7 separate regions of the Homo sapiens genome follow, and regions 2, 3, 4, 5, 6 and 7 are each linked to region 1. The links are contacts of gene promoters, found by promoter capture Hi-C in blood cells and fetal thymus (Javierre and others, 2016). All regions are on one chromosome and are shown on one strand. Each heading gives the region's core, a stretch centred on a gene start or on the middle of the fragment in contact. The rest is flanking DNA. Distances are from core to core; before and after follow the strand shown. Region 1 holds the start of NUP107 (nucleoporin 107). Region 2 has its middle 10 kb from the start of IL22. Region 3 has its middle 16 kb from the start of IFNG. Region 4 has its middle 29 kb from the start of IL22. Region 5 overlaps MDM1 (Mdm1 nuclear protein). Region 6 overlaps MDM1 (Mdm1 nuclear protein). Region 7 overlaps IL26 (interleukin 26).

The links. The method cuts DNA at HindIII sites, captures the fragments that hold promoters and counts their contacts. A CHiCAGO score of 5 or more calls a contact.
Region 2: a fragment that was not itself captured here is called in contact with the fragment with the promoter of NUP107 in region 1 in 3 of 17 cell types (M1 macrophages, M0 macrophages and monocytes); the score reaches 7.4 in M1 macrophages.
Region 3: a contact is called between a fragment that was not itself captured here and the fragment with the promoter of NUP107 in region 1, in 1 of 17 cell types (fetal thymus). The highest score is 5.1, in fetal thymus.
Region 4: a fragment that was not itself captured here is called in contact with the fragment with the promoter of NUP107 in region 1 in 1 of 17 cell types (M1 macrophages); the score reaches 5.1 in M1 macrophages.
Region 5: a fragment that was not itself captured here is called in contact with the fragment with the promoter of NUP107 in region 1 in 14 of 17 cell types (megakaryocytes, monocytes, naive CD8 T cells and 11 more); the score reaches 9.9 in megakaryocytes.
Region 6: a contact is called between a fragment that was not itself captured here and the fragment with the promoter of NUP107 in region 1, in 2 of 17 cell types (M1 macrophages and megakaryocytes). The highest score is 5.9, in M1 macrophages.
Region 7: a contact is called between a fragment that was not itself captured here and the fragment with the promoter of NUP107 in region 1, in 11 of 17 cell types (total CD4 T cells, megakaryocytes, total B cells and 8 more). The highest score is 8.0, in total CD4 T cells.

What each region holds. Positions count from the first base shown.
Region 1 is chr12:68,685,141-68,688,481 of GRCh38, forward strand. NUP107 (nucleoporin 107) reads left to right here and starts at 1,838. Exons shown (of 28, transcript NM_020401.4): 1 at 1,838-1,933. The coding sequence starts at 1,926. It overlaps LOC100507250 (a long non-coding RNA gene), which reads right to left and starts at 1,719. Exons shown (of 3, transcript NR_038930.1): 1 at 1,597-1,719; 2 at 723-877. It also overlaps the pseudogene RPL7P42. The HindIII fragment of the contact is 6,312 bases long and covers 1-3,341 here.
Region 2 is chr12:68,241,683-68,245,038 of GRCh38, forward strand. No RefSeq gene overlaps it. Among named protein-coding and RNA genes, the nearest start is that of IL22, 10 kb to the right of the region's middle. The HindIII fragment of the contact is 5,664 bases long and covers 1-3,356 here.
Region 3 is chr12:68,174,355-68,177,473 of GRCh38, forward strand. No RefSeq gene overlaps it. Among named protein-coding and RNA genes, the nearest start is that of IFNG, 16 kb to the left of the region's middle. RefSeq lists an enhancer at 1,554-1,613. The HindIII fragment of the contact is 8,282 bases long and covers 1-3,119 here.
Region 4 is chr12:68,280,512-68,283,785 of GRCh38, forward strand. No RefSeq gene overlaps it. Among named protein-coding and RNA genes, the nearest start is that of IL22, 29 kb to the left of the region's middle. The HindIII fragment of the contact is 8,720 bases long and covers 1-3,274 here.
Region 5 is chr12:68,317,300-68,320,761 of GRCh38, forward strand. All of the region lies in intron 7 of MDM1 (Mdm1 nuclear protein), which reads right to left. Among named protein-coding and RNA genes, the nearest start is that of MDM1, 13 kb to the right of the region's middle. The HindIII fragment of the contact is 5,517 bases long and covers 1-3,462 here.
Region 6 is chr12:68,296,717-68,300,216 of GRCh38, forward strand. MDM1 (Mdm1 nuclear protein) reads right to left here. Exons shown (of 15, transcript NM_001354969.2): 14 at 207-266. Among named protein-coding and RNA genes, the nearest start is that of MDM1, 34 kb to the right of the region's middle. The HindIII fragment of the contact is 466 bases long and covers 1,717-2,182 here.
Region 7 is chr12:68,216,407-68,219,426 of GRCh38, forward strand. The region is part of intron 3 of IL26 (interleukin 26); the gene reads right to left. Among named protein-coding and RNA genes, the nearest start is that of IL26, 7.9 kb to the right of the region's middle. The HindIII fragment of the contact is 700 bases long and covers 939-1,638 here.

The DNA.
Region 1 (3,341 bases), core at 588-3,087:
ACATGGTGAAACCCCATCTCTACCAAAAACGCAAAAATTAGCCGGGTGTGGTGGCAGACACCTGTAATCCCAGCTACTCAGGAGGCTGAGGCAGGAGAATCGCTTGAACCCAGGAGGCAGAGGTTGCAGTGAGCCGAGATGGCACCACTGCACTCCAGCCTGGGCAATGGAATGAGACTCCATCTCGAAAAAAAAGAAAAAGAAAAGCAAGGAGAAAGCTACATCTATGAAAAAGCTAGGCACTGTCAGATGTGGTGGCTAACCCCTGTAATCCCAGCACTTTGGGAGACCCAGGTAAGAGGATGGCTTGAGCCCAAGAGTTTGAGACCAGCCTGGGCAACAACATAAGACCCCATTTCTCCAAAATATTTTTAAAAAACGGGGGAGGAGAGGAGGTCAGGCATGGTGGTGCGTGCCTGTGGTCCCAGCAACCTCAGGTACTAGGGAGGCTGAGGTAGGAGGATTGCTGGAGCCCAGGAGGTCAAGGCTGCAGTGAGCCGTGACTGTGCCACTGCACGTAAGCCGGGACAATAGGACAAGATCCTGTCTCAAAAAAAAAAAAAACAAAGAAAGAAGGAAGGAAGGAAACATAATTTAAAAAATCAAGTCCAAAAAAAAGCAAGCAAGAAGTAAAAAAAAAAAGCTCAGCACTGTCACAAGAAATATATGGCAAGAAAAGCTGGCAATTTCTATATACCTGTGAAACCCAAATTGTCACTTGCCTTAAGGATCAAATGTATCAATGGTGTGAGCCCAAAACTCTGTTGCAACTTCTTCACTTTCCCCAGATCTTCAATGGCAGCTTTGTTAAACTCAACAAGGCTTCAGTTAACACGCTGAGGATTGTGGAACCATATATCACATGGAGTACCTGAACCTGAAATCAGTAAATGAACTGATCTACAAATTGGTTATGGCAAAATCAATAAACAAATTACCTTAACAGATAACGCTTTGATTGCTAGATTTCCTGATAAATATGGCATCATCTGACTGGAGAATCTGATTCATGAGATCTATGCTGTTGAAAAACTCAAGTTCCTGTGATCCTTCAAATTATCTTCTCCACGAGGGAGAATGAAGGACTACCTATTTTGTATTAATAAAAGGTATAAATGCCAGCAACAGAAAAGACTATATCAACAGGCTTATTAAACGGATAAACTGAAGCATCTAACATTATTTTTGTAATCTGGTCAGTTAATAGCCAGTCACTACTTTCAAACTGGAAAAAACAAAAACCAAAACAAAAATGTGACTGACTCCTTCAAGACCAAAATACACCACTTTTTGCCTAGACGGCACTTTGAAATAGAGGGCAATACCATCATATTTCACGCTTGCCTTTCTACTTTTTAATACAGGTGAACTTTTTCTCCTTAATAGGAAAGAACACCAAGTAAAGAACAAATAGCAGTTATGGAAAATAGTTGCAAAAACTGCAGGGGGCTACAGAACAAAGGACTGAGTGTAGGCAGAGAGATAGAGATCCCCGAGGTGTGGGGCAGAGCCCACGCATCTGAATTCCAAGAACAGGCGCTTTCTGACAGAGAATACCAGGAAATGACTTCACATTTTTCCAGACTATCAACATACTTCATTCTTCCCAGTAGGAGAACCCAGGGCCTGTTCCACGCCCACAGACTTTGGTCAGGCAAAGCGGCCGCAGGGCGTCTGGGCTAAACGCAACCAGGAACACATTGGCAAACTTTTGCGCCTGCGCCCACCGGGCGTGCACCTGTAGGCTGAAGTCGCGCATGCGCTAGATGGGAACGTTGTTTCTTCTCCCCTACCCCTTTTCTGTGGGTCTGTTTTAGGGACAGACTGCTTCCGGGTCGAAGGGCTTGCTTCCGGAGAGCGGGAAGGCTAAAACGCGGTAGCTAAACTGCAGCCAACTTTGGTTGTGTGTGGAAAAGGCTTTAGCCATGGACAGGTCAGTACTGATGGTGGCAGCTGAGCCCGAAGTCTTGCCCGTCTCGCCTGTTGGCGAAACGAAATAGGTGAAACTAGACTCCCAGAAGAAGCCAAGGAGGTCCCGGGTGCTTCCCCTAAGGCTCCTTCCCCATGCCGGGAAATTTGGCCACAAATGGGGAAAAAGCCGCTTGGCGTGCGTCGGGGTGGGGTACAGATCATAATAGTCCCTTACTTTCCCACTACGTTCTGCGATCTATTCGGCGCTTTGGGGCAGCAACACTGTTCGCTCCTGGGGTGGGCGGGGTAGGTAGCGCGGCGTTCGAAATGCTAAGTGACCAGCCTGAGATCACAAAGCCAGTCAGTGAAGATACTGGGATCTCAGCCCAGACTTTCTGATTACAAGTGCCAGCATCAGATTCTGAGTTCCCTCTATGATCTGGGTACTGTGCTAGCCGCCTACAACAAAGATCAGTTATTCAAGATCCTTCCCCTCGGGGAATTAGTTGTGTAATGGAGACAACCAAGCAGTGTAAAGTGGTAAGTGTTTGGGGGCGATTAAGTCTCCTTGTCACTGTAACTATCAGGAAGACCCCTCAAAGAAGGTAACTTTCTAGCTGGTCTTTGAATAATAAGAGTACATTATTCGTACTCCAAACATTGAGTACCTACTATGTGACTGCCATTGTTCTAAAGGCGTTGAATATATATTATTAGCTTATTTAATCTTCAGAACAAGAAAAATCCTATGAGATGGGTACTGTTATCCTTTTTTCATATATAACACTGAGACTAAAAGAGGTTAAGGAACTTGCTGAAAGTTCGGAAGCTAATAAATACAAGAACCAAATTGCCAACCTGCATCTGTGTGTCTCCAGCCTACCTGAGGCTCTTTGAGGAGTAAGTAGTTGTTGACCAGGTGCTCAAGGGGGCAAATGTAGGTCTTTGTAAAAGAAGCATATTCAGAGGTGCTAGGATATGAAAAAAAAGTACGTGTAGCTCAGTGGTCACATGCAGTATACGTTTAAAGTGATGTTTGTGGCTGAATAGAAGACTGAACCCCTAAACTGGGGTCACATTGTAAATATCATTTTAGGAAATTTTTACTTCTATAGACCAGAGAGCTATCTGAAGGTTTTTTTTTTTGTTTTTAATTTTAATTGTTAAACGTTTAAAATTGTTTCTATGTGGTTGTTTCCCATACTTTCCTGCTGAAGGAATATCTGAAGGTTTTAAGTGGAGGAAAAGCATATTAGATTCTTGTCTTAAACACAGGCCTTTTAGTCCGCACAATTTAGTTTCTAGACCTTTGAGTGAAACTGACAGGGAGTGTTGTGATGGGACAGGAGACCTCCTGGGTTGAAATAACTTGAAGGGTCATTTTGCTCCAATTTACCACAATTCTTTTACTTACCCTTCTATCTCACAAG
Region 2 (3,356 bases), core at 371-2,870, 440 kb before region 1:
CCTTAACCTCAGCTAATCACAGAAAAAAAAATATTATAATTCTATCATCCCTGAAAGGGAACATCAGTGCCTCTCAGCATTTGGAACCTGCCATGGGTGAGCAGCAACTATCTGAGGCCCATGGTACAGGTGGTAAAAGAACTTACCAAGACAGTTGTAGGTAAAGAAAGGCAGATTTATTAGAGAAAGTATGATAATATGTTGCAAGAGTGCAATGGGCAAGTTAGTAAAAGACGGGCTAACTGCCGGGAAACAAAGGCTTGCTGGGGATTTTGTAGACTGGAACGTGGGCCGAAGAGTGCTGCCTGCAGTACTGATAACGCCAAGGCTGCAGGGAGCTAACTCGCCGGTGTCTGGTGGTAAGCTGGGCACAGGAGGGCTATATGTCCTGGACCATGAAGAAAAGCAGACTTTATAGCTTATCTACTTGCTTTTTTTGCTTTCCCTCAGTCCCACCAGCCTAACTCCTTTTCCTTAATTAGGACTTCACATTCCCCCCCTAACAGAGCAAGAATGACAAATCTTTGGCATGTGAGTGAAGGTCTCATCTTCCAACTGCTTCCTGCTGACCAGAAGTGAAGAGTTGGCCCTACCTAGGATTGCTGCTCAGTTAGGAGGTTCCATGGGTCTAAATCCCTAAGTTAGGACTTAAATTGAGCCGGGTTGCTGTGAGACTATGGGGGAACCGCATTTGCAGCCTAAAATTTTGTTCTGCTGCATCCAAAGGAGAGTCATGGAGTTCTTTTAGAAGCTGATATCCCTCGCTGCAGTAACATTTTGGTTTGAGATTATTGTATTCTAGAAGACGCAACATGAGATATTGCAGTAAAAATATGTGGTGCAAGTAAACAAACTAATATGAACATTATTATAGGGGGGAGAAGTTGGGCAACCCATGGCCAAACCCAGCTGGAGAAATTTTGAATAGTTGTGCCAAAAAAAAAATCTTGACGAACTCTTTTTTGAAGGCCCTCTGATACCTTGATATTCTCTTTTACCTTTTTTAAACTTTCTTCTATTTGACCTGAAGTATTGATGTAAAAGCAGCAGGTTTCACTTAACAGCACACAAGTGCCTCCTGCCTTGGTGGTAAGCACATCTAAAGCATGTTGATTCTGCAGGACAACCCCTGACAATGAAATTAGGGCCTGTTTCTGGGCCTCAATGGCTGTGACTTTAGGTTTCCAAGATTGCTGGACTAAGATGGTGAGTGTATTAGTCTGTTTTCCTGCTTCTGATAAAGAGATACCTCAGACTGGGCAATTAACAAAAGAAAGAGGTTTATTGGACTCACAGTTCCATGTGGCTGTGGAGGCCTTATAACCATGGCAGAAAGTGAAAGGCACACCTCACATGGCAGCAGACAAGAGAAGAGAGCTTTTGCAGGGAAACTCCCCTTTTTAAAACCATCAGATCTTGTGAGACTTATTCTACTATCAAGAGAACAGCACCCATGATTCAATTACCTCCCACTGGGTCCCTCCCACAACATGTGGGAATTCAAGATGAGATTTTGGTGGGGACATAGCCAAACCATATCAGTGAGATTACAAATGCTGTGCTTGAGCATGGGTATACCTGCAAACCAAGAGTCCACTGACTATAGAATATTCTAGACCATTTCTCTCCATAATGGGATTATCAGTGGCAAGGATGCCAAATGGTGGGAGGTTAAGTTCCACTTTTGTTTTCTTTCTTCTGATGATCTTTAGAGGGCTCCACTTAGGAAGAACACCAAATTTGGAACTTGGCCAGAGGTTATGAAGTTCGAGGAGTTATATATATGCGCTCCAGGTATGGCTGCAGCTGTAGTACAGGTGCCCATCCACTTAATAGGCAAGGCTAGAAACATGATGGATACCCATAAAAAGAAGAACCCAATTCCTTTTAATGAAACTCCCAAGGAGGGACTTTGTAACCAGGCATAGGCGTGATCAGTTTGGATTCCAGTATAATTTGCATAAATAAGGGGATTTCATGGTCCCCGGGGATTAAATGTGAACGGGCAATGACCGAAAAAGTAGTTATCCACACATAAGGGAGTCAAAGTTTCACTTGTTGTGTTGTGTAAATATGGGGCCTGACAGATAAGAGTTCTAAATATTAATTGGTTAAAGGAAAATCGAGGAAAAGCTGTATTAGTGAGGTTAAGAAGTTGTCCAGTTTCAACCCCTATTCCTATATATTCCATCCCAGTTGCTAAACTATTTACAGGCATAAAGGAATCATTTTAAATTTTGCTGGCATTAACTTTGTTGTTTTCCCACCATAGAGAAAACCTGTGGAGGTCCTCGGTGAACTCATCAGTCATCATACAGCTCCCATTCCTGGTGTGTCTCTTTATAGTTGAAGGTGTAATTACAATGGGCTTGTGTTAAAGCCCCTAGGAAAGGGCCAGGCCCTTCTGAGTTTCTGAAGTCTCACTTTACAGGCCATTTCTGGTGCCTTCCCTATTCACTGGGTTACAGTGGATGATTGCCATGAGAGATCAATTGGCCTAGGTGCCCCCCCTATACCTGTGTTTTTGGTGTACGTGTACATAGTGTAGTCAAATCCAGAGTATCAAGTATTGGGCTTGCATGGTAGCCATTTCTTCTCTAGAGAGTGGGATGGCTAGGAATGTAATGTTATTCTCGACTGCCTGCCTATGTGGGCATATCCAGCAGTTAGTACGATGTGGTATGTTAGTAACCTGAGATATTACTGGGTAGAGCAGGTGCCTGGTTGCAGCCATTGAGGCAATAGTTAGCCATGATAGACACCAACAAAACAGAGCCATATTTAAGGAAAATGACAATATATAGTAAACTTAGAAAAGAAGAAGGGCTGCAAAGAGTATGAGAAAAACAGTTAAACAAATACCTAGTATCTTAGCACATCAATGTTGTGGTTTAGGGGTAAATAACATTACTAGGACAAGTATAAAGAAATTTCGGCCCTGACACCTGTAAACCCAGCACTTTGGGAGGCTGAGGCGGGCTGATCACTTGAGGCCAGGAGTTCAAGACCAGCCTGGCCAACATGGTGAAATCTTGTTTCTATTAAAAATATAAAAATTAGCCGGGCATGGTGGCAGGCGACTGTAGTCCCAGCTACTCAGGAGGCTGAGGTGGGAGAATCACTTGAACCCGGGAGGTGGAGGTTGCAGTGAGCCAAGATTGTGCCACTGTACTCCAGGCTGGGTGACAGAGCAAGACTCCGTCTCAAAAAAGAAAAAGAAAAAAGAAAGAAAGAAATTTCATCTGGGTAGTAGTTTTGGAAGTCTCCCTGCAAATAGCAATTTTGTACTATTTCCCTTATAAAAGCATTAATATTAAGAGCATGAAGCTGCTCAAGGGAGGCAGATGGATAATTAC
Region 3 (3,119 bases), core at 55-2,554, 510 kb before region 1:
AAAATTTTTGCAATCTAGCCATCTGATAAAGGTCTGATATCCAGAGTCTACAAAGAAGTTAAACAAATTTACATTAAAAAAAAACTCAACCCCATTAAAAAGTAGGCAAAGGATATGAACAGACACTTCTCAAAAGAAGACATGCATGCAGCCAACAAACATGAAAAAAGCTCAACATTACTGGTCATTAGAGAAACGTAAATCAAAATAATAATCAGATACCATCTCATACCGGTCAGAATGGTGATTATTAAAAAGTCAAGAAAAAATGATGCTGGTGAGGTTGCAGAGAAAAAGGAATGCTTTTAGATGGTTAGTGGGAATGTAAATTAGTTCAACCATTGTGGAAGACAGTGTAGCAATTCCTCAAAGATTTAGAAACAGAAATACCATTTGAACCAGCAATCCCATTATTGGGTGTATACCCAAAGGAATATAAATCGTTCTATTATAAAAACACATGCACACATATGTTCATTGTAGCACTATTCAAAATAACAAAGACATGGAATCAACCCACATGCCCATCAATGATAGACTGGATAAAGAAAATGTGGTATAAATATACACCATGGAATACTATGCAGCCATAAAAAGGAATGAGATCATGTCCTTTGCAAGAACATGGATGGAACTGTAAGCTGTTATCCTCAGCAAACTAACACAGGAGCAGAAAACCAAACACCACATGTTCTCACTCACAAGTGGAAGCTGAACGATGAGATCACATGGACACATGGGGGGAACAATACGCACTGAGGCCTGTTGGGGAAGTGGGGTGAGGAAGAGCATCAGGAAGAATAGCAAATGGATGCTGGGCTTAATATCTAGGTGATGGGTTGATCTGTGCAGCAAATCAGCATAGCACACATTTACCTATGTAACAAACCTGTACATCCTGTGCGTGTACCCCAGAACTTAAAATAAAAATTGATGGAATAAAAAAGATTAGGCATCCCAAAACTTAATGATATATAACTTGTCCTATTTGAAAATTAGAAACATCATTTGCTAATTAGAATCATAGATCATGACTTATATGCTGGTCATATTTATGGTTGCATTAGGAATCCTATCAACCACAAAAAAAGTATGCCCTGCACTCTGTCTTTTTTTTCCTAAAAAGAAAAATAAAGCCAATCACAAGAGGGAAAATCTAAATGACATTTCACAAAGTGTTCAATCTATGCTTCCATTAGGAAAGTGAAAGAACCCAAGAATGGGAAATATTTCTTGTCACCCCAGGTGAATTTGAAGAAGTATTTTTCTGGTTGGCTTTTTCAGCAAGACTAACAACATTCTGTTCTATTGGCCTGTGGTCAGGGGTTTCCCCCAAGGTGCCTTCCATCTCTCGGCAAAGAGCAGTAACTTGGTGGGTTGTTTTCTTCTTAGTCACCTGATAGGATTTCCCAGGACAGAGGTGTCAAGCCAATTCTGACCTAACTTCCCATGTCCTTCCTGTGGGTCACCCTGAGAAAAAAGGAAATCGCTCTTCTCCCCCACCTGGTGCTGATGTCATTCCTCTCTTCAGCCCAGCGTCTCAATGCACTCAGGGACGCTTCTGCCTCTGCAAAGAGCAAAGGCTTCAAGTGATGGCCTTGCATGGTAGCATTCTCTATCACAGAGTCAGGAAGCTCTTAGACTTCCTTTTATTTGAAGAACTGCAAGGAAACCACCTGCAGAGCTCCCAAGACCTCAAGAGTTTGTTTTGCACCTTCGCTCTTCTGAGGTAATCACACCTGCTGCCACAGCTTCAATAGCTGAAGCCAAGGAGTAAAAATTGCACCAACATCTATAAATCCATATGAAGCTGAGTGGTCTGAATAACCTTACCAGATGTTTTTCTCATAGAAGAAAAAAAGTCCAAGTTATCCTCATGTGCTTTTCTTCCTCACTAGGTTTTAAGGTCCTAGAGAGTATACACTGCCTCTTAGTCTTCTTCATCTATCTCAAAGTGCCTGGCTGAGTGCTTTACATGAAGTATCCAATAATTCTTGACCATCAGACCTGGGGGGTGGAACCAGCAGGGCCATTTAGCCAGGGCTGCAAGCCCAAACAGATCTCTATTCTTCAGCTGCAAGTTAGTGCCCAAGCCACATAGGGAATAGGATGATACCTCATTACACATGCTGATGTTAGCTTTAAACTATGCCTGCCCTCTGTTTTCCTAAAAGCTGTGTTACTGCCAATCTCAAAAGCTGCTGTTCATAGTCATTCACTGTTGGACATTAATGACAAATCACTTTCATGAACTGACATCCATTTAAAGGGATTTTTTAAAAATGTGTTTATCTCATAACTGCTCCTGTTTATATGAGGATCCTGTCTTCTTTGAGATTATAATGACAACAAATGTTATTCGTTTTCTGCACTATTCATATAAACAACATAACTGGGCATAATACTTTCATGATATCATGTCATTACTAATAAATCACCTTTTTAAAACATCTCTATGATAGTATCATGGTTAACAAACAGCACAGACAAAGGAGCAAGACTGAGTTTGAGTCCAGGCTCCATCTTTTACCAGCTGTGTAAACTGTGTGAATCTAGGCAAGCTCCTTAAAGTCTCTGGACTCTACTTCACAGGTTTTTTGTGGGATTCAAATGAGTTATATGTGCAGCTCTTGGAATAATACTTGGCATATAGCAAGCACAATGTGTGCTCATCATTTTTATTTCCATTTTATGGGTTTTTTTCCCTTGTAACCTGATTTAGAAGTTGTATTTGTACATTTCTTCATGTTTAACGTATTTGTTCAGGTTAAATTGAAATATTTTACATATAGAAACTGAGGTTGGGTTACCTCAGAAACAGAGCTTGAGACAAGGATTTTTTTTTTTTTTTTTTTTTTTTGGTGGTGATTCTAGGAAGCACCAGTAGAAAAGAGGCAAAGAGATTCAGGGAAGGGAAGGAAGTCAGTTCAGGGTGGTTCCCAAAGGGAGCTACTGTAGTCAACTGAGACTCAGCCCACTATAGACCTCTGGGTGATGGTGTAGCCCATACCCCAAAGTTATCCTGCCCAAGGGACGAAGAAGTTGGGGTATCTATCCTGCGACTATCTTTAGCACTGTCTGAGCACTGCTCCCAGGGCATTAAACCCCTAGCTCTTCCA
Region 4 (3,274 bases), core at 334-2,833, 400 kb before region 1:
TATACTGTGCAGGAGAGCTGAACAAAGCAGGACTCTACAGTCAAGGGGCTGCAGCTTGCAGATTCAGTCTGCCTGTGTATGGGCTACATTTTCTATGAGAAGCAATATACCATGGTGCTCAAGACCAGCAACATACCTGGTCTCCAAGGCCAGTTAGGCATGGCTTGCAGCCCCAACTACACCATTTATGAAGGATATGGACTTGGCGAAGTTACTCAGTTTCTGTAAACCTCAGTTTCCTCATCTGTAAAATACAGGTAATAATAGGCAAAAGTACATAAGATTATCCTCATTCAGGCATTTGGTACAATGTCTGACACATAGTAAGTGCCCAGTAAATAGAAACCATTCATGTGATTTGGCCTGTACTAAAGGGAGCCTGTTCTCTATCTCATCAAGGCTGCACATCATTGCAAGGTTTTGTTGTTGTTTGTTTGTTTGTTTGTTTGTTTGTTTGAGATGGGGCCTCACCATGTTGCCCAGGCTGGTCTCAAACTCCTGGGCTCGAGCAATCCTCTTGCCTTGGCGTCCTGTTGCATTTTGAAGGAGGGATATCGGATACTTGCACTATCTCCCTTTTATTTTATTTTCCATTTCAACTCATATTTTAAGTTAAACAGTAAAACCCCCATTTTCACAGCTCCTGATGGAGCCATGTGAGTGAAGGTGTGCATGTGAGTGAGGCTAGTCTCCCAAGAGAACCTACTCTTCATATGCAAACCTGGAGGGGGACCCCGCACAGCAGGAAACAGGCCACTTAGAGCAATTTAATCCCGTGTGAAAGAAAATCTAAACTAAGTTTGGACATCTTTGATTGAACTCAGCACATCTTTTACAACCAGTTAAATCATTAGACTTCAGAAAATCTTTTCAATGTGGGTGCCAAACAGCCAGTTTGGCTTTAGCTGTTTTGTAATCACCTTGGTTCCTCAATTTTCTCATCTCATTGTTCATGTTAACCGTAATATCTGTACCTAAGGGAAGATTCCGTAAATACTTTACTTGGTAACTAAGAAATGAGCCACTACCAGAGAAATCATTTCACTGCCACATCAGTGCAGGGGAGTTTAGCTGTTATTTTCTCAGATATCATAAGCTCTAAGAGGCTGATGCTTATCTGAGAATCCCATTTAAGGAAATTGCGCATGCTTAACTCTAGTGGTGTTTCTATGGCCATTTCACAATTATATAAGGAGGAATCAATTTAATAAGAACTTTATTGGAATCAATACATTTGATTGGCCTAGTTTCACAAGCACCTTGGCAATGCCACATTCTCAAAAATCAGCCACATATGAAACCAGTGTGCATGCAAGGATAGTTATCAAGTACTTAGTGAAACTCGCTAAATTATCAAAGAAGATGGGGGAGGCTGCTATGACTTGGAAAGGCCAGATGGAAAGAAAAGCATAGACTGAAACAGAGTCACTTCATAGTTACACACTGAGGCCCAGAAGTAGACCAATCTCATTTTAAATTTTTCCTCTGCCCCCTACTAATTTTGTGAAACTCAGAAAATTTCTGAACCTCTCACCTCAGGGTCCTCCTCTGAAGGATAAGGAAAATCATAGTAATGGGAAGTAATGAGGTCATTTGTGAATCTCAGAGGTAAAGAGATTATTTGTGAAGGCCACTTAGTACAACACTTAATATAAGCACCCAAAACTACAGATATTATTTAATAAAGCTGCCACATGTAACCTGATAAATCTGTCAAATACAAATAATAATTGTCCTTATTTCTTATGGTTATTGTGGTCCTAAGTGAGTTAATGTATATAAACAGACTAGAAGTGGGATCCTCATGAGCTCAGTAAGTGTAAGGACTATGATAACAAAGAATCCTCCTCCTATTACTATAATTATTATCCAGTCCTTCTTTAGGGAAGAAGAAAAATCAGCCTGGAATTGAAATTTTAACTTAATCAATAGCTTGAGCCACCTCAATTGCTGATATTTTACCACTTTTTACCTGCAAAAAACTAGCAATTTCTTTCTTTCTTTTTTTTTTGAGACAGAGTCTTGCTCTGTCACCCAGGCTGGAGTACAGTGGCTTGATCTTGGCTCACTGCAACTTCTGCCTCCTGGTTTCAAACGATTCTTGTGCCTCAGCCTCCTGAGTAGCTGGGATTACAGGCATGCGCCATCACATCCAGCTAATTTTTGTATTTTTAGTAGAGATGGGGTTTCACCATGTTGGCCAGGCTGTTCTCGAACTCCTGGCCTCAAGCGTCCGCCCACCTTGGCCTCCCAAAGTACTGGGATTACAGGCGTGAGCCACTGCACCCAGCCAAAAATAGCAATTTCTTATGGTTCAATTTAATAATTGAATTTAATGTTCATTTAATTTAAACCTGCTGTCTCAAAGAAGCAAGTGCAACTTTTCTCAGTACAACTTAATTTCATGTGTGATGTCTTAAGGTTGCACTTTTAAGGACTAGCCCCTTAGACTGGGTATTTTCATCTAGGTCACCACTTTTTTTTTGTTTTCTAGTCAGGATCTCGCTCTGTTGCCCAGGCTAGAGTGCAGTGGAGCGCCATCACAGCTCACTGTAGCCTTGACCTCCTGGGCTCAAGTGATCCTCCCACCTCAGCCTCCCTGGTAGAGTAGTCAGAACTACAAGTACATGCCACCATGCACAGCAATTTTTTTCATTATTTGTAGAGATGCGGGTCTCCAAATGTTGCCCAGGCTGGTCTTGAACTCCTGGGCTTCAAGCAGTCCTTCCGCCTTGGCCTCCCAAAGTGCTGGAATTACAGACATGAGCCACCGCATCCGGTCATAGGTTACCACTTTTGACATTTATGTAGCTGCCACCAGGTGCCTGGTGGTGCCCCAGCCTCAGGCTCCGTGGGACAGCCAACTGAGCTCTCCTAGGCATACCCAAAATACAGCTGCATTAACTATCTAGTGCAATTATTTTTACCAAGCTCTAATTGCTTAGTAAAAGCAAAGTAATATGCAATTTAGACTAAGGTTTTTTTATAAATAAAAATAAATATGTGGGTCCACTGTGACACCATTCTTATACTGACATAGTTGAATGGCTGTCTTTGCGTGTTTAGAATAAACTTGGTATTCTTTATTCTTCTCTAATGAAAACCTTTTCATTTTTCACTTATACCTCAAATGTCAAAAAAATTGTATGAGGCTCCTCAGATCTAGAGTCAGAATCTCTTGCTGTCAGTTGAACTTTGGCATGTAACTCTCAGCTGGCTACTGATTTCAGAGGAAGCTGGAGGTGCCCACTCATCCACCTCTCCAAAGCAGTAG
Region 5 (3,462 bases), core at 244-2,743, 370 kb before region 1:
TTTTACCCTTAAAATTCTGTTCAGTATCTTTATTTAATCTCAAAAAACACTAATTTTTTAAATCATCAAGACAGAAAATCTTTATTCTAGAATTGCTTTTCTTTCAGGGCAAAAAAAAAAGCAAATAATGAAACAGCAATGTAAAAGCAATTGTAGAAACATAGCTCCTTAACAAGGTACGATTTTGAATGCAAAGATGAAAGTGTTACATCTCTAGGGAATTGGCCAAAGCAAAAGACAGCACCTATATGGCATAAGAAACCATATAATCCCAACAGAGTCCTACTCTAATGAACCATACCTGAAAAAAGTTCCTAAAGGATAATTTGAAATATTTTCTTCACTGCCAAAAAAAAAGCTATGTTCATTTATCATTTCTATCAACTCCTATACCTTTAAAGAAAATTTCTAGCAGTGGTTTTTGCATTTAACAGGTAGAAGTGAGGTACATGAATTAACTCTACTGAACTTCTAACCAGGGTATTCTGAATGCACAGGAACCTTGTTATAAAGTGCCTCGATATACTCCAGATTTTATTGCCAGTAAGTGCCCCCATGCTTCAAATGTTTCAGGGCCACTCCATCACCTACATGCCTCAGCATCACTTCCTCCTCTGTGTTCTCAGAGTTCTTTGGGCACATCCCCATTAATACATATTCAATTTTACTGGAATTAATTGCACATGCCCTCCTCCTCCATCAACCTATGAACTTCTTGAGGTGAGGGAAAACGCAGCACTTAAGCACTGAGCCCACAACCTGTCCTGAGTGCAGACTAAGTGGTATGCCTGAGCTAAACATGGCAGCCAAAGATAAGCAAGAAACTCCCTGCACTCAGTGAGCCAACCTGTACATAAATTGTCATAATATTGATGGGGGTCTATGCCATAATAAACAAATGAAATGAAATGTAAGTTGAAGGAGTAGTTCAAAAGGGGGACCAATCAGTCCTGCACTGTGTTGGGTAGATTGACGGGGCAGTGGGGGTGGAAGGGACAGCAGAGGCAGCTGCATCTATCCATGCATGATGAATGAAAGGATGGATGAATACCCTCCATGTACACAGTCATCCAGTTTTATTTGACGTCAATTTTATTTAGAAAGGAGGGGGAGAGTATACTTCATAAAAATTCTGAAGACTTTGATTTATTCAGTTCTATTTGTTACTGACATTTAAAACTAAGTGCTTTAAATTTACTATATCAACAATCTTTATTAATCTCAGTGCTAATATTATATTTTACAAATATGATTTTAAATATCTTTAGCCCTAAACTAAGATGAAAAATTAAAAGGCTGACATTTTCCAAAGTAGTATGTTCTACTAAAAAGAGGAGGAAAAAAATCAATAGCATGAACTCAATGTTAAATAGAACAATCCCTATAGCCAACTGCCAGAGCCACCAAAAAGGATAGAAATAAACCATTCCCAACTCAACAACATACACACACCTTTCTGGGCCAAGTAATGTTATCATATTATATATTATGATACAATTATAAGTAGAATGTTTCCTTTTCTGAATTTCTTTGTCCAAATTAAGAGTTCAACTAAATTATTTAAAACATATGCAGAAAATTCAAACTCAAGAAACTGGGGATAAAAACTCCTTTTACCCAAAAACCATCCCCCCAAAATGAGGGGTCACTTTATACCTAGTCTTTACAATGTCTGTCAAATTACAGGACATCTCTCAAATGCAGGACTTTATCTTGAAACACAGTCCTATTTGTGGAAGACACATTGGAATAAAATCACCTCAACCAATCGATGATGAAAAGATTACCTAACAATTAAGAAAAAAAGAAGTTTAACATAGATTAAGTAGTTATTCTGAGGATAGAACCTAAAAAGTTCTAATTGCTGACTATTAAGAAACAATCCCTTAAGTGAGCATTTTAAAAAGCAATAGTCAAGTGGTTATTATAATGGAGATGACAAATACACAACCACTGGGCAAATAAAACCAACCACCCTAATGCTCTATGAGAGGTAACTGGGACTTGGCATAGAATTTCCAGTGACTAGACTATAAACAGATTCAAAAAGTATATCTCAAACATAGAAAGAAATAAAGATGATATATGGACTCGAAAACTAATGTGACTCAAAAAGTGAGTTAATATTCCAACAACAAAGTCACTTATGTCTGAGTGCATGTGAGGAGTGTGAATACACTCCTTCCTGAAATGTTAGGAGTGGGAAAATGAAGGAGTACTGTACCTTATATTTAGGAACCTCATAATCAGATGCCTATAGTAAATGACTTCCAAGAGATATAAGTAAAACATGGCTCATATTAAATGTCTATAACCTGGTCAACTAAAACTGTTATCATCAATGATCACTGACTTCTTAGCTAAAAATTCTTATTCTTTTCCAACTTCAATTTACTTTTTGAATTATTTTTCTCAAAGAAATTAAGGCAAACTATACCACTAATTTAAATATTTACAACCACCATTATAGTATTTAATAAGCAAAAAAAGCTGCATTACCAAGATATCATAATAGGAAACCTTGAAAAGTCTATCTTAAATTGACAACAACAATGTTCTCTTCCATCAAGGCAGGATAAGGAATCTCATCTTACTATGACTTCAGTTTTAACAATCTTCTCAATTAGATGTTTAGTTCTGATGCCTAAACTCATCTTAGTTTAAAGAAATCGCTGCTCGGCCTTTTGGCTGAGATCAAGCGTAGAAATCTCAGAGAAAACACAGTCTTCAAAACAAAGAGTTTCTCATAACCTCAACCTAGTGTCACGCCTAAACACAACAGGCCAGCGGCTGACATCAATTTACCAGCCACACATACTGTTCTGCCTCTGTCCTGCTTTTCCTCACTCCCACTATCAGACTCCTCAGTCAGGGAGATCTTTGCCAAGACTTGGGATGGTCATAAACTGCTCAAGAGTTTAGCTGACTCACTGCCTTTCTTCCATCACGGGTGCTTTCGATGCTCCTAGTTTTAACTTGATTTCACTAAGGTGAATATATGAACATTGCCCCAGATAATATCCGGGACAGCTTTGAGCTTTGTCTTTTACTTTGCCTGTGCTGTCTTCAGGCCGTGCTCAAATAGAGAAGTAGAAAGAAAGCAAAAGAGTGGCCACGGTGGAAGGAATCAAGTGACCTCCTGAAACAATATGCAGACAGCATGGCAGTCGCCAGGACATATGTCTGGGAGCTGCAGCTCAAAGAACCAGCAGCTCAGCGCACCCGAGCACCAGCCCCTTCCCCCAGAGGCTGATTATATATAATTGTGGGCCATGGTTTTAAGTAATGAGCTAAATAAAAGACTCATTCCCCATCCAAATTATCCTTCTGTTTACAATGACAGGGGGAAGTGGGATGTTTACTTATGTCTAAACAGAAACATTTTAATTTAGCTTGTTCTCACAGAAAAGGCAAAAAAAAGTCAAGATATGATTTGAAAGATGCTAATTAATACAATAACAA
Region 6 (3,500 bases), core at 700-3,199, 390 kb before region 1:
TGCCCTAGAACAGTTTTTTACCACTTTACTCCCAGCTTACTCATTTGTAAATGGGGGTAATTTCACTCCCCCTCACAGGGTTTCAAGGATCTAATGAAAAATCTGTGGAAGTACTTCATAAGCTATAAAGTGCTAATCAAATGTAAAGCCATTATACTCTCATAGACTAGAACTCAAACTTTTATGTTATGTGACTACTGAAATACCTTCATCATTAAAGGCTTCATGTTGAGGTAACTGCAAATTGTTCATCCTTGCTTTTCCCACTTAAAAAAAAAAAGGCAGAATAAATTATCCTTCAAAAGCCACTGAACAGCTTATCTCAATTATATACTAAACTGTTAGTAAAAGTAGGCTGTCAGAAATTTTATTAATTATCAAACCTACATGTGAGTAAAGGTTTAAGAAATGAAAAAGATTTTATTAATTAATTTTATATCTTAATAGAAATTACCATAAAAGGGCCATTCATAATTTATAATGCACTTAGCAAGCATGTAAACAAACTATGGATAACTTCCTAATATTCTTTCCAATGATAATATTGATCTATTCTAACTTTAAAGAAATGTAGTAGGCTTCTGATTAGAGATGGTAAATTAAATACACGCATTTACAAGAAGAACAAACTCATAGGACAAAGAGAATGGGAGCAAATAAGACAGCAAGAAACTTTTTGGAACATGGAAAGCAAATGGAAGAGCAGTGAGTGTATAACTATACCCAAGTAAGTGGAAGTTTAAGCCAGCAGAAGAGTGAAACCAAGAAACAACCAACTTGTTCCCCTGATGGCTCTGGGTTTGGGCATACTGAGTACCACTGAAAGTTGGAGTGAAGGGAAGACTGAACCAGGAAGCTGCCTAAATATGTTTTTACAAAAATAGTTAATATGCCAGGTCCTCCTTTAAATTTGCACAGCTGGGTAGTTCCCTCTTTCCCAAAGAGGCATGGAAGTTTCGTCTCTAAAAGTTTACCAGAGATACTTTGACTGAAGGATACCAGGTTCAACTGTGGGCAGGGGTAATGTATTCAAAACAGAGGCATTATATGTATCATTTTCCTCTTCAAAGAGATAAAACATTCCATTCATGAAATAAGAATGGGATGCTGTATAAAAGCAATATGCAATGTTCAAAAATTCTTAGAAATTAAAAAGAGCAAAAATCTTTTTAAAAAACTAACAGACGGCATGTGGAGAGTCAAAGAGCAGACCCACCTAACCCAGCCCCTGCCTGGCTGTGCCCCTCCACAGCTTAACAAAAACGACATAAACTTTTGGGAGTTTTATAACCCTGCCCAGGTGTGAGAAGCCAGAATACCTCCCCTGGGCAACACAGGGAAAGCTCAATTACCACTGCTACTACTGCAGCTGGTGCTCTTTTGCAAGCAGCACCTCCTGATTAGAGGCCAACTGACACAGTCCATTATATCATCTCTAGGTAGAATAACGCTGTGCCCAGAAAACCAGTGCCTGACCTCAGCTATCACCACTGCCTGCAACACCCTAGCTGACCAGTGGTCCTGAATCTGTCTACGTGACAAGTTCACAACTATCATAACCAACACGCAAGAAAGCCAGCACCCTAAGCCTATCTACAACCAAGGAATCTCAGGAGTCCCAGATCTTTCCACTGGTGGGAAGTTTCTTTCAGCAGAGACACAATTGCAGTGCTAGGCTCAGCAGGGAGTCTACCCCATCACCCCAACAGTCAGGCAAGCTTAGTGCTCATGAAGGGTCTTGGAGAAGGGGTCTTATTTCCCCTTGTCCACCACTGCAGACACAGCTGGGACTTCTCCCACAGGACTCGGTATGAGTGTGCCTATAGACAGCCTTCCTGGAACACTTTAGGGTGACTGCTTCCCCACAGGAGGAGCACTCCCCAGATGCAGGCTTGCATGAGAGGCAGAGTCACAATTCCTATCTACTTGGATAGCATTCTCACCCTTCACCCTGATAAGACCTCACTGCATTTAACTGAGAGCTCCCCCAGCCACCTTCATCAAGGCTGGGACCTGTGCCCACCAGTGGGTATTGCATTCACCCACCTACCTTAGCCACAGTAAGTTCCTACCCAGGGATACCTCCCCTAATGGCCTGAAGCCTGAACTATCAACTCAGTAAACAAAATACTGGAGAAAAATTAAATAAATGAAAAAGTACACACCACAGGGGAATGAGATAAGCTTCAAGAGACCTCTGCCATTCCAACCCCACAGGAGACAGCGAACTTGCCGACACACTGAGTACACAGCTACTACAACCAGCAACTGAGGAAGCCATCATACAAAGACTCTCTATAACCAAAGAACTTATAAAGACTCTTCACCCCTAAAAGCACCAAGAACCAAATTAAACTATAACAAATTATAATCATTAAGGTCACATTCTTAAGAGGGGAAAAAAATTTTAAAAAAAACACACATAGTCAAATCAAAAATAAATTTGAGAACAATTAGAATAGTCTACCCAAAAAAGAAGGAACCAGAAAGTAATTCTAGTAATATGACAAAACAAGGTTCTATAACACCCTCAAAAGATCACACTCACTCTCCAGTAACTGATCCAAACCAAGATGAAATCTTTGAAATACCAGATAACAAATTCAGAAGGTTGATGATTAAGCTACTCAAGGAGCTACCAGAGAAAGGTGAAAACCAACATAAAGAAATTAAAAAAAAATTCAGGATATGAATGAAAAATTTCCCAGAGAGATAGATATCATAAAGAAAATGCAATCAGAACATCTGGAAATAAAAAACACACTTAGAGAAATACAAAACGTAGTGGAAAGTTTCAAAAATAGACTAGAACAAGTAGAAGATAGCTGCATGCCAGGTCCAAGAGGGAGGAAAAAGCAGAAAAAAGAATTTCAGAGCTCAAAGACAAGGCTTTCGAATTAACCCAATCAAACAAAAATAAAGAAAAAAGAATCAAATGAAATGAACAAAGTCTCCAAGAAATATAGGATTATGTAAACAACCAAATGTAAGAATAAATGGTGATACTGAGGGAGAAGAAAAGGCTAAAAGTTTGGAAAATTCCTTTGAGGGAATAATTGAGGAAAACTTCCCTGGCCTTGCTAGAGATTTAAATATCCAAATACAAGAAGCTCAATGAACTCTTAGGAACTTCATTGCAAAAAGATCATCACCAAGGCACATAGTCATCAGGTTATCTAAAGTCAACATGAAGGAAAGAATTCTAACAGTTGTGAGGCAAAAAGCATCAGGTAACTTACAAAAGAAAAACAACTAGACTAACAACAGACTTCCCAGCAGAAACCTTACAAGGCAGAAGGCATTGGGGTCCTATCTTTAGCCTCCTTAAACAGAACACCTATCAGCCAAGAATTTTGTTAGTTTAGCAAAACTAAGTTTCATAAATGAAGGAGAAATAAAGTCTTTTTCAGACAAACAAATGCTGAGGAATTTGTCACTACCAGACCAGCACTACAAGAAATGCTAAGTAGGAGTTCTAAATTTTGAAACAAAAGCTTGAT
Region 7 (3,020 bases), core at 39-2,538, 470 kb before region 1:
AGAAAATGTAATTGGAATAAAAATTAATGTTCTGTGCATGAAAAGCAATAAAGGAAGCACTAACAATTCTGCAGAACTACTACATGCTAGGTACTTAATTCTCCCAACGACCTTAAGATGAGGCTACTGTTATTGAAGACACAGGTTTTAGACTTTGCAGCTGATAAAAGAATAAGACAGGATTGGTCTCACTCTTGCTTTATCAGTTCAACCAGTTGCAATTTTTACAATTTTAAATTACAGGGATGAATGAATGGTATTATTTTACAAGTTGATAAGCTATTTGCAATTGATGATACAAGTTACTTATTAAACAGTCTACAAAAAATGGAAACACAATATTCTGTTTGCCAATTTTTGCCAGACTTTAAAATTAATTACATGCAACCGACATGAAGAAATGTGTCTCTCTAAATACCAATTACTGTTCAGGCTCTCAAAATGTTAATTAAAGTAGACGATGAAATCTTAAAAACTAACAGAAATTATTTTCATTTCTATTTTGATCACTAGCAATTAGGTAAATTATTTTATGAATCCAATAAGGTGACTGCTAAATTCTCTTTCAAGTCTGAGAGTATTTGAGTTCTGTAAGAATCTCTAAAATGTCTTCTTACATAAACAATTTTCCAAATATTATGGCTAGGAAAGAGTATAAACATAAAGAAGTTTACATTACACATAACTTATTTTTTGAACAATTATACTATCTGACTTACCCAAATCAAACTAATTGGAAAATATATTTTATTAGGTGCTGCAAAATGCTTAGAATGTCACCAGAAGCAATGAGAGGATGTCCAAATACAGTGGTACTGGGAATTCCAGTCCTTGGAGTCTATCATGATAATTTGTCATGCTGTTTTATCTTAAGAGTGGCTCAAGAAAACGGACTTGCAAGGAAGCCCAAAAGGCAGGTACCTTAGAGAAATCAGATAAGCTTCACAAAAATAAGAAATAATTTCATGAGTTAATAATGAAACAGAGAAAATGACAACAAAATTAATAATTCATTGGTCATTATGGGAGAAAATCAGAAAACCAACCACTTATGTTGAAAGCTAGCAAATAAAGGAAGATAATTAAGTATTTAACCTGGCTTTCTTATATGATAAGTTCCTCAGAACATCCAAATAGGAGTAGATTCTATTTATTGAATTATCCCAGCTTATGAGTAAAGAAGATAAAATAGAATTTAAAAATTATTATTTTGTAGTGCCTTATGAATTAACGGATCTAGACAATAATTGTCAGGGGTTGTTATCATCGTAAAAATAAAGATCATACATCATGTGACCCAGTGAAAGCAAACAATGCTACCTATAAAGTGTTCTAGCTAAAACATCAAGCTAAATCTGATCAAGTCTCTCTGTATAATTGTTAATGTATGGTAAATAAAGAGGAGAATATATTAAATGACACTATGAAAATGCAGTCAGAAAATACAGACTATGAGAAACTCTGTGAGACAAATGGCCGAATGTCCTGAACAAATACATTTCAAAAAGGAGGAAGAGAAGGAAAAGAAGAAAGGAAAGCAAAATCATAGGAAATATGGTAGAGTTTACAGAAATGTGTTGCTTCAATGAGTGGCAAAAACAGCACTAGACTAAACAATACTTTGGTCCTGCCTAACAAAGCTTAAACAACAAGATCTGAAAAGATCAAACTGTTTGCAACTAATTTAACTGTGTCCCAGAAGAAAACTCAAGAATATTTACAGAAATATAAAAATGTCTAGGATCCAACAAGGTAAAATTCATAATATTTGACATTTGATCAAAATTACCAGCCGTGCAAAGATGCTGTAAAATATGACCCATAACGAGGGAAAAAAATCAATCAATTGAAACCAACCCAGAGTGGACACAAATGTTACAATTAATCAATAAGGATATTTTAAAAGTTGCTATAACTCTATTCCATATGTTCTAGAAGTTAGAGAAAGACTGATCATGTTCAATAGAGCAATGGAAAATATTAAAAAGACTCAATTCAAACTTCTAGAGATAAAAACTACAATGTATGAGGTGAAAAATATTCTGAATGGGACTAACAGATAGGCACTACAAAAGAAACGATTAGTGATCTTGAAGATGTAGCAATAGAAACTATTCACAATGAAACACAGAAAAGACTGGGAAAAAACAACCCACAGAATCAGTGAGCTGTGGGACAACTACAAATGGGCTAATATATGTGTAATTAGCATTCCAAGAGGAGAAGAGACAGAAGGAGATACAGAAAAAAGTTTTTGAATAAATAATGCTGAACAATTTCAAATTTGATGAAAACTATATACTCACAAATACAAGATTCCCAATCAACTCCAAGCACAAGAAGCCTGAAGAAAACTACATCAATTCACATCATAATCAAATTGCTTAAAACAAGTAATAATGAGAAAAATAAAAGGCACGAATATGTTATGAGTAAAAGGATGGAAAAAGACATAGCACACTAACATCAATCAAAAGAAAGCTGGAGTGATTCTATTAGCATCAAAAAAGAAGTGGATTTCAGGACAAAGAATATTATTAGGGACAATAAGGGTAATTTTATAATGATAAATGTGTCAATTCATCAAGAGAATATAACAATCATAAACATTTCTGTACCTAATAACAGAAATTCAAAATACATGAAGCAATATCTGATAGAACTTCAAGAAGCAACAGAAGTTCACAATTAATGTCAGAGATACCAATAATTGATAAAACAAGTAGAAAAAAGTTAATAAAGAGAGAGAAAAAGTAAAAAGCTGTCACAACTAAATCTAATTGAAATGTATAAAATACTCAGCCCAACAATGGCAGAATACATATTCTTTTCAAATATACATAGAACATTTACCAAAATAGACCAAATTCTGGGTTATGAAACATGGATCAGCAAATATAAAGGGATTCAAGTCATACAAAGTATGGTCTCTGGCCAAAATGATATCAAATTAGAAATCAAAATTAGAAAAGTATCTAGAAAAATTCCCACATATAAAAACTAAATAACACTCTTCTAAT